Regions from separate parts of the Homo sapiens genome. Here regions 1 and 3 are each linked to region 2. The links are contacts of gene promoters, found by promoter capture Hi-C in blood cells and fetal thymus (Javierre and others, 2016). All regions are on one chromosome and are shown on one strand. The core of a region is centred on a gene start or on the middle of the fragment in contact, and the rest is flanking DNA. Distances in the headings are between cores, read along the strand shown.

Evidence for each region. Contacts are between HindIII fragments. The CHiCAGO score rates a contact against its expected background, and 5 or more counts as called.
Region 1: a fragment that was not itself captured here is called in contact with the fragment with the promoter of ROR2 in region 2 in 1 of 17 cell types (M1 macrophages); the score reaches 5.4 in M1 macrophages.
Region 3: a contact is called between a fragment that was not itself captured here and the fragment with the promoter of ROR2 in region 2, in 1 of 17 cell types (M2 macrophages). The highest score is 5.6, in M2 macrophages.

Annotation. Positions count from the first base shown.
Region 1 is chr9:90,988,501-90,991,581 of GRCh38, reverse strand. No RefSeq gene overlaps it. Among named protein-coding and RNA genes, the nearest start is that of LINC02957, 7.0 kb to the left of the region's middle. The HindIII fragment of the contact is 894 bases long and covers 1,376-2,269 here.
Region 2 is chr9:91,948,973-91,952,012 of GRCh38, reverse strand. It overlaps ROR2 (receptor tyrosine kinase like orphan receptor 2), which reads left to right and starts at 1,785. Exons shown (of 9, transcript NM_004560.4): 1 at 1,785-2,146. The coding sequence starts at 2,050. RefSeq lists silencers at 1,212-1,506, 1,620-1,799 and enhancers at 1,993-2,492, 2,493-2,994. The HindIII fragment of the contact is 6,243 bases long and covers 39-3,040 here.
Region 3 is chr9:90,966,826-90,970,136 of GRCh38, reverse strand. No RefSeq gene overlaps it. Among named protein-coding and RNA genes, the nearest start is that of LINC02957, 29 kb to the left of the region's middle. The HindIII fragment of the contact is 3,335 bases long and covers 1-2,988 here.

The sequences.
Region 1 (3,081 bases), core at 573-3,072, 960 kb after region 2:
TGGATCTTAAGGGTGTGGCATCAAAGTGGAAGGAATATAAAGTTGTATCAGTCTGAAATTACTGATACAGGCTCACTGAGAGTATGGACTCAGTGTTTTAAAGTGATGGGTTAGAAAGGACTCTAATAGTTTGATTGGTTGACTGAGATATGTGTGTTAAAGACTCTGCCAGTGAAGTCTCAGAAAAAAGTGAGGAGCATTATAGAAAAAGCTGAATCACTTTAAACAGATTGCTAGTAGAAATCTGGACTTTAAGGATACTACTGACATGGGCCAAGAAGGAAGTGAGAAACACGTTATTGGAAACCTGAAGAAAAGAGATCCTTGTTATATAATTGCAGAAAGTTTAGTGAAATTGTGTCCAGTTGTTACATAAAAAGCAGAACTCATAAGTAATAAACTGGAATATATAGCTAAGGAAATTTCCAGGCAAAGTGTTGAAGGTGCTGCTTGTTTTTTTCTTGCTTTTTATGTTAAAATGTAATAGAAGAGAGACATATTGAAGGAAGACTTATTGAAGGGACAACGACTTGATAATTTCAAAAGTTTAGCCTCTCCAGGTGGCAAAAAATACCCCTAGAAGTCAGAGATGGATGCCAAAATTATGACATAGAGAAAAGGCTGAATATGTGTTTGTGCAGCTCTTTGCTGAAACCCTGGAAAGCTCAGAGGTCTTGTGTATTCAGCCACATAATGACTCTTCCAAGGGATTAAGAGTGTTCCATGTAGATCTTCTAATCAAACCAGAGAGCCTCTGGGAAGCTTAAAAACACTGGTGTTCAGCACTCCAAGCAGAAGCCAAAGATAGAGAAGAGATTATTAGAGAAAGATTTGTGTGTATAGCTTTTGTCTAATGCAGAGAAACCCAGTGAAAATACACACAAGGCCCACACACTTTAGAAAAAAACATTGTATTAGTGGAAATATTTTAGCAAAACAGATTAGCAGAAAATAAAGATGCCAACTAGGACTAAATGGAATATAGATATTACAAAATGGCAAAAGCAGACTGATAAAATTCCCCAGCTGCAAACACCTGTCACCTTTTGTGAAAAACGGAGCATGACTCTAAGAGCTAAAGCAGGAGCCCAGAAGTTGAAGATGAAAGCCCAGAGCAGCTGAGAGACACAGGTTACCTGGCTTTGAGACCTGGTGGATTTTGCCCAGCTGGGTTTCAAAACAGATTGAAACAAATGACTCCTTTTTACCTTCCATTTCCCCAATTTTGGACTTGAGTTCTATAACTGTTATTCTTTCCACCATTGTGTGTTGGGAGTATTGGAGAAAGATACCTTGTGTCTTTTATTTCACAGGTGTGTAGGTGGAGACAAATTGTGCCCCTGGAGCTGTACTTAATGGGTGACACTCAGAAGCTTTATCTACACCTGATTCAGATAAGTAGATAATGAGTTTTGGGCTTTTGAGCTGGTGAGATTCTGGACTTTATCTAGTGTGATAATGGGATGAGACTGTTGGAAACCTTGGGGAGCAGGTAAATGTTTTCTGCAAGTGAGAGTGAATTATGGGGCCAGAGTTTGTACTCTGGTGGACAGAACTGTAGGTGGCCCTAATGATCTCTGCCCCCATTGCAGCATCCATGATTAGGTTAAGTGATATAGCAAAGAAATCCTGCCTATGTGGTTACGGTCACTAATGAGTTGATGTTAAAATAAAAATATAATCTGGGTGGGCCTAACCTAACCATATGAGCCCTTTAAATATAGAGTTTTACATAGATGGACCTGGAATCATTATCATAAGTGAAATAACTCAGAAACGGAAAGTTAAATACTGCATGTTCTCACTTGTAAGTGGGAACTACACACTGGGTATGCATGGACATATAAAGTGGAATAGCAGATGTTAGAGACTCCAAAAGATGAGGAGATGGGAATGGGGTGAAGGTTAAAAAACTACCTATTTGGTACAATGTTCACTATTTGAGTGACGTGTACGCAAAAGTCCAGATTTCACCATGATGAAATATATCCACATACATGTAACAATACTGCACTTGTACCTCCTAAATCTATTTTTTTAAAGTGGAGTTTTATCTGATTGGTAGAAGAAGAGGAAGTCAGAGAGATTCCAAGTATGAGAAGTATTTGATGAACAATTACTGGCTTTGAAGATAGAGGAGGCCATGGAGCAAAGAATGCAAATGGCCTTAGGAGCTGAGAATGGCCCTTGACTGACAGCTAACAAAGAAATGGAGAAGTCAGTCAAGCAATAGCAAAAAATGGAATTCTCCCATCAACCTGAACAAGCTTAAAAGCAGACTCTTCCTCAGAACCTTGGTTAGAGCCCAGCCCAGCCAAAATTTCAGCCCTGAAAGACCCTAAGTAGAGACCCCAGTTGAGCCCACTTGGACTTCTGACCTACAGAACTGTGAGATAATGAATGGAAGTTGTTTGAAGCCATTAAGTTTATGGTAATTTGTTACACAACAATAGCCAACTAATAGACTCCATAATCCCAACAAACAACCTTAACTTCCATAAACAACTATTTATTGAACACTTACTGTACTTAAGGTATATGAAAGGGACATAAAGAGATAGCAACTATAAAAATGTAATTAGCTAATATTTATGGAGCAGTTCTACAATGTGCCATATAGTCTCCTGATTATGTGTGAATTATCTCATTTAATCTCCACAATCTGTGAAGGATGTAGTAGTTTATTACTAACAAAGGAGTAGAAACATGAAGGGTACGTAGATTGTCTAAGGTTTATTTATAAAACACGACAGACAGTAAGCACAACCAGTATAATTTCCGTATTTTCTGGGGTAGTGCTGATTTAAAATATTCGGTCTTCTTGCCTCCTGATTGCATTTATAATTGTCAAACCACATTCCTGGGTCTGTGGTTCAGAAAATATGGTCATCCTGCTTATAAAATAAAGACATATGTACCATAGGAGCCCTGACTCTCAAGGCAGCCATCTGTGTCCAGTGCAATGGGTCAAACATAGAGTGTTTCTTTAGTAAACACCACAAACTTGCTGTCTGCATGCTTCCTTAGAGGACACAGCGACTAATTGATGGTCAAATGGCATCCTTCAGTGAAGATTGGGAT
Region 2 (3,040 bases), core at 536-3,035:
AAGGAGAGAGTGAGAGAGAAATGCCAAAAAAGAAAGCTTTAAAAGGCTTTTAAGAAATCATATGCAATATAACCCACATTTCTGACTCCACCCAAGAAACTGTCAGCAAAATATATGTTGCTGTTTAAACCTTTGAGTTGGGTTTGTGGGGCCTCAGTCATGTGAAAATAACACACAGATGGGGGCATGATGAGGTCATTTTCCTGAAGGTCACACAAAAATAAATGGCAGGGCTGCTGATGAAATGGTTCTGGAGCCACATGCTCACGCTGTGTGAAGTGGAAAGCAAAGGTGCTGGGACCACCTTCTCCGAGCTGCACAGCACCACGGAAAGGACACAGCATTGCTGAGGGAGGGGTTTTCCAGGGCAGGTTCAAGACCCTTCTCTGCAGCCCCTGTTGGGTTTTCCCTAGATCCAGAAGAGAGGGGTGTGGAACTAAGTGCTTCAGCACCTACTCTTAAAACATTACTCTAAAAGCATCCTTAAGGATTCTAAGGGAAGCTAAAGGGAGGAAAACCCCAAAGATAAACCCCTGGCAGTCCTCTAACCACTGGGGAGAGCAGCCCCCCCGTTCAGACCCGCACCAGCCTGGGCAGAGGAACAGCCTGAGCCCGTCTAAGAAGTTTGGTAATAATTTTGCCATCCAGTTGAGGAGGGGCTAGGATCTTCTCCCATTCTCCTACTGGATTTACAGCAGCTCCTGGGAATGAGAACTGCGTGAGATATTTCCCTACACAAATTGGGTAGAGATAGCCGGACGCCTAAATACTTTTAACAGAGGTAACAAGCTAGAGCTGGCTTAGTCATTTTGTCCGCAGACCATAGCAAGAGAGTTTTTATTTCTGGCCACGTCTGAGGCCTCACGTCTGGCACCCAAGGCCAGGGCTCTCCCTAATGCCCTCCAATTAACAGAGCTTGGTACTCCAGCAAAAACACCAAACAAACTGCTGGATAATCAGTTAAAAGATCAATCTCATGGAACAAGCAACTGAGATGCTGGAGAATCCAATTCCTTCCTCTAAGAGGAAAAACAAAGACATTTGCATGTGCTGAGCAAAACCAAGAATAAGCAAGAAAACATGCTATTTGAATTCCGTTCAAAATGTCTCTAATAAGTGAAGCAAATTCTGCACATTCTGGGCCTCTGCAGAGAACAAATAGTGTTCTGCCTTTAATGGGTAAAATTATACAATTTGCTTTTAACAGTAAACCAAAAGCCGCGGTGGCTTCGGATAGCATCGCGCTCCCGAGGGCTCCCTCCACGCAGCTCGACCCCTGGCAGTTTTGAGCATTTCGGGGGACGCGCTTGTCCCCACCGACCTGGGAGGGCGCCGGTGCCAAGGCGGCCTGTTTGTTTTCCTGAACATTTCCTTTTGCAACTTTCGCTTCTCCTCTTCCTGCCTCACCGCTGGTGTCTGGGGCTGGGTGGCTCTCAGATTTGTCCCGGTGCGCAGTGCAGCCTGGAGTTACTGATTTGTGACCTAGATCCCCGGGTGTGTCGCCCCCGAAAGTCGGGGGCACCCGCTCTGGGCGCCTCTCCTGCGTGGGCAGACCCGCCGAACTCCGGCTGACGCCCCCAAGGCGCCACCTTTGTGTTCAAGCGTTCCGAGGCGCAGGCCCGAGGGCGGGCGCAGGAGGCAGGTCCGGGGCCCCAGCTGCAGCCCCAGCTCCTTGGGTCCCGCCCGCCGCCCGCGCGTTCCCCCGGCAGGGGGCGCCGGCGCAAGCCTCGCTCTGCCCATCGGGGCGGGCGAGCGGGGACCCTGCCTCCTGCGCGCTCGCCCGCGGTCCGCCCCCCGCGCTCGTCCTGGCGGCCGGCGGGACGCCCCAGCCCGCGCCAAGGAACCTCCCCAGCCAGCCCTTGCCGTGGCCGGAGCCGAGCGGCGCATCCGGGCCGGAGAAGAGGACGACGACGAGGTCCTCGAAGTGGACCCGTTTGCGAAGCGCCAGGGAGAAGGAGGAGCGGACGCATCGTAGAAAGGGGTGGTGGCGCCCGACCCCGCGCCCCGGCCCGAAGCTCTGAGGGCTTCCCGGCCCCCACTGCCTGCGGCATGGCCCGGGGCTCGGCGCTCCCGCGGCGGCCGCTGCTGTGCATCCCGGCCGTCTGGGCGGCCGCCGCGCTTCTGCTCTCAGTGTCCCGGACTTCAGGTAGGATCTGGCGTTCCGGCTTGTGCGCAGACGGTAGCTCACGGCTCGCTTGGCCAGCCCTTCCGCCGCCACTATGCTCCCGGCCGCTGCGCCGGCGCCCATGCTCCTGAACGAGGGGCGCCAGGCAGGGCCATTCGCATCTCGCCCGACGCCGCTCCCGGCCCGCACCCCGGACCCCCTCGGGCTGGTTACAATAAGCCGCGCTCTGGGGACGCCTAAGTGTTTCCAGAGTCTGGGGGCGGGCGGCGGCGGCTGGGAGCCTCTCGGTGGCGCTTCCCGAGGGTCGCGAGTGGGAGTGCGAGTGTGAATGTGAGTACCCGCCCTGGGCCCGGGACCCGAGTCCGCAGATGTGCCCCGAGGGTCCCAGGACCCGGGCTTCCTCCCCGAGGTCTTCCTCCTTCAAGGGCACACGGCCCCGAGTGTCCCCCGTCTGTCTCGGAGCGTCCCCCCACCCCCAGGGCGGCCTGATGCCTGGCAGAATCCTGGGGTGGACGTGGCCCCGGAGAAGCGGCTCTTGCGGCGGGGGTGGGGGCGCCGGCGGCTCCCGGGTCCTGACTTTCCCAGCCCGCGGGCCGCTTGATGGAAACGGGCTCTTTGGCATCCCTTTTGTTGGTCCCTGAAACCTCCTCTCCCCCACCGCTCTGGGGTGGCCGAAGTGGTGTGTGATCTGGATTGAAATGGTTTGTGACTGGGATCGCGGGTCCCTGAGCGGCTGGGGCGCGGCCGCCTTCTGGCCGCGCCGGGGGGACCCCCGGGACCTGTAGGAGGCTGGCGGCGGGAGGGGCGGGGCCCGGCTCCTAGGTGGGTTTCCTCCCGGGGCCCCACTTCCCCCGAGTCCCTGCGCGGTTTCGGCTGCTTGGATCCGGGGCGCAGAGGAACGGCGGGGAGGTTCGG
Region 3 (3,311 bases), core at 72-2,571, 980 kb after region 2:
GGAATGCTCAAGTTGTAACTACTCTAAGTGGAAATTAGGAAAATGGGGACCCTGGGGGGATGGTGATCCAAGTTGCCAATTGTCCTTTAGGACTGTCATTGTTTTTTCTCACATTCTTGTCTTAGATTCTGCAGATGTGGTGATGTGGCGGGAGTAGTTAATAGCAGTAGTCATGGTATTTAACATCTGTGAAATCATACACACTTGGTAACCTTATGTTGATTCCACACCACACCATCTAATCACCATTTTCTCTTTCCTTTTTTCCTTCTCTCTTTCTCCCTCCCTCCTTTTTTCCTTTTCTTCTTCTATTCCCTGTTTTTTAAAGGCAATGTTGACATCATGATGGTCAGTAAAAAACAAACATTTACTCCAGCTTAAACAGCCCACCAAATAAGAATCCTTGAGTTCTGATTAAGTTCTGTATCTTACTCATTTACAAAATAAGAATGACAAAACTCCTCTCGGGGGTGTTATGGGCATTAGACAGATATTAGGGATGATGGTTAATTACAAGCAAGGCTGCTCCTATGGCCAGGAATAAAAACGCTTGTACCTACTTAACAGGCTGGCATGATTCATGTCTGGTGAGTTCACCCTTTGATTCAGGTGCCAGGTGTGATCAGCTCTTTCATATACATTATCCAATTAGTGGGATGAGCCTCTCGGCTGGCAAGTTCTGCTGGCTGCTCACTGCAGGCTCTTCAGGGTTGTCATGGAGACCATTGGAGCAGATGCCTTAAGCTGGCTGAGGTGTTTCTGAAAGATGGGAATCCCGGCTGGGGGACCCCAGATTCTAAACGAGGGCCATGTGACCTGAAGAAGATAACCCCCAAATCCCAGACTCCTACAAAGCCAGAGTGTCTAGCCAACATCGCAATAGTCAAGCATGCCACCACATGGCTCACAGGGAGAAGGCGTTCTGAACTCCCCCGGCTCATCTCTGGGTGTCTAACTGCACGCGGAAGCCAGGTGCTGGCTGCTGTGTTCCCAAGAGGCTCAGCCTAAGCTAGGAAGGCCAAAGTCAACTGAGGTAGGGCTTGGTGGGAAGTCTGTACCCTCTTTGGGGCAGCATTGGAAGAATGAATTGACTCAGACTTTCCAGTTGCACCTCAAGCCAATGTGGTGGGTGAGGCTGGCCCTAGAGGTGGACCCAGTAAGCACTGGAGAGTCAGCACAGGAGGCTTCTGGAGGTCCCCAGGGTCTCCTTTGCCACAATTGACACAAATCTGTTGATCAGACTGGCAAACCAGGCTCTTATAGAGTATGTCCTTCCTGGTAATGGTAATGGTTAGGACCCTTTTTTGAGTTTCTATTAAGTGCCAGGCACTGTGCTTCACCTACATTCTTTCACTTTACCCGCACGTTAACCCTAGGCAGCAAGTAATAGGGTATCTAATTTTTAGGTGAAGAAACTGAGGCCCCCACATAGCTATTGGCAGAGCTGGGATTTGAACCCAGTTGTATCTGGCTCTAAAGACTAACAGACTGTTACAGAGAACCAATGACCAAGAAACAGTGGACATTCAGTCCACAGCATTTGTTTCTTACAATCTTGCTCATTTAGAGACATCACTTATGCAAAGGGTAGAGAAAAAAAGATAACATTGTGGGTGGCACCAGCCAGTTAGTGTGGTTGCTGTGGCAACTTGTATCCCTGGTCCATAACAAGTGCTACCCCATAGCAATTCCCATGATCTCTGCTTCTTCATGGGAAACCAAGAAGATAAATGTATTAGTGCAGGACAGAGATAGCCAACTGTTCCCAACATCCATTCATCTTTTCTTCCTTTTAGGAATAGAAACCCTCAGAATTTTAATTGCATGCCTAGACTTTCATCTAGAGACTGCATTTCCTAGACTCCTTTGCTGCTAGACATGTCCATGTGACCAAGTTTGGGCCAATGAGATGAGAAAAGAAGCGATGTGTGCCTTAGGAAAAAAGGGAAATGTCCACTACTTCCTCCCCCTGACCCCTCAATCTAGGAAATTGGAGTAGTTGCCTGGAACCCAGAAATAGAAGCCATGTGTTGAAAGTGGCAGAGTAGTCACACTGGCCCAGGCTGTTTGCCTTTGTCGTCTTGTATTTGAGGGAAATAAATGTATTTCTGCCACTGTATTTTCAGGCCTTTGTTATAGCCATGCAGCCTATATCCCAACTCATGTAGTCCAATGGTGAAAGGTGACCTAAAATGGATCATTACTATAAGAGAATTCCCATTGTTTCCCTGCCTCCCCACTCAATGTTAAAACACTGAATATCTTTCAATGTCTGACTCCATGTGAGGGGCCTTTCTTTACAAAGCCCAGTTAATCAGGGCCAGGTGGATTCACTAAATGCATCCACGAAAGAGCAGATTAAGGAGATTGCAGAAGCAATGCAGGGTATGGCACTGACTTCTCTGTTAACAAGCCAGGGTGCTTGTTTGACTCTCATTTAAAAGATAAAGCCCAATCTTCATTTTTATCTTAAATAATCACTGGGAAGAAATTGTATGCATCTAGGACATACCTGGAATAAATAATAAATGGGCTTTCTTCATTTGATCTAGAGAACACAGAAGGCAGAAAGAAAAAAAAAACACGTGAAGAGAAACATAAAGCAACTTTTCTTTGAAATGTAAATGGAAGTGTGTGTGGCCTGGTAGAAGCAGCTCTGGGCGGGGGCGGGGGGTCTGGAAACCCAGGTTCCAACTCCTACTCAGAGCCTCACAATGTGTAAAAGGAGAAAGGGAGGGTCCTAAGTCCCTTCCCACGTCACCATGGTCAGATTCTGGGGAAGCTCGCATTTTCCAAAGCTGACGTCAACATCTCCCATCTCACGAGCTCTTCTACAATATGGGCCTTCCCTTCCCTTCCCACAAGAGTAGGGGAGACTAAAGCCCTTCCCTTAGATCTGGCCTAGCTGTCATGACACATGGCTCCCCAGGTCAAAGGAGGCCATGTAGCTTTTACGTGGGGACCTGGAAATCATAGTCTTCAGAAGCTTTCTGTCTGGGTCATGCTGTGAGAAGCTGGAGGCATGGGAAAGGCTGCATGCAGGTTCTCTGGTGCATGGTCCCAAGGAGCCCAGCCTCATGCAGGAGAGCAGCTTCTAGATGATTCCAGCCCCAGGCATTGGAGTCTTACCAGCTGAGGCCCAAGCATCATGGAGAAGAGGTCACGTCCCCCATAACCACTCCCAATGCCATCTCTGCCCCACAGAATCTGTGAGCGTGGGCTATTTTGTACCACTAAGTTTGTGCCCGTTATCCCGCAGTAATAACTGGAACAGAATTGAATATCCTTCCCGCGGTGCACACTTACAGAGT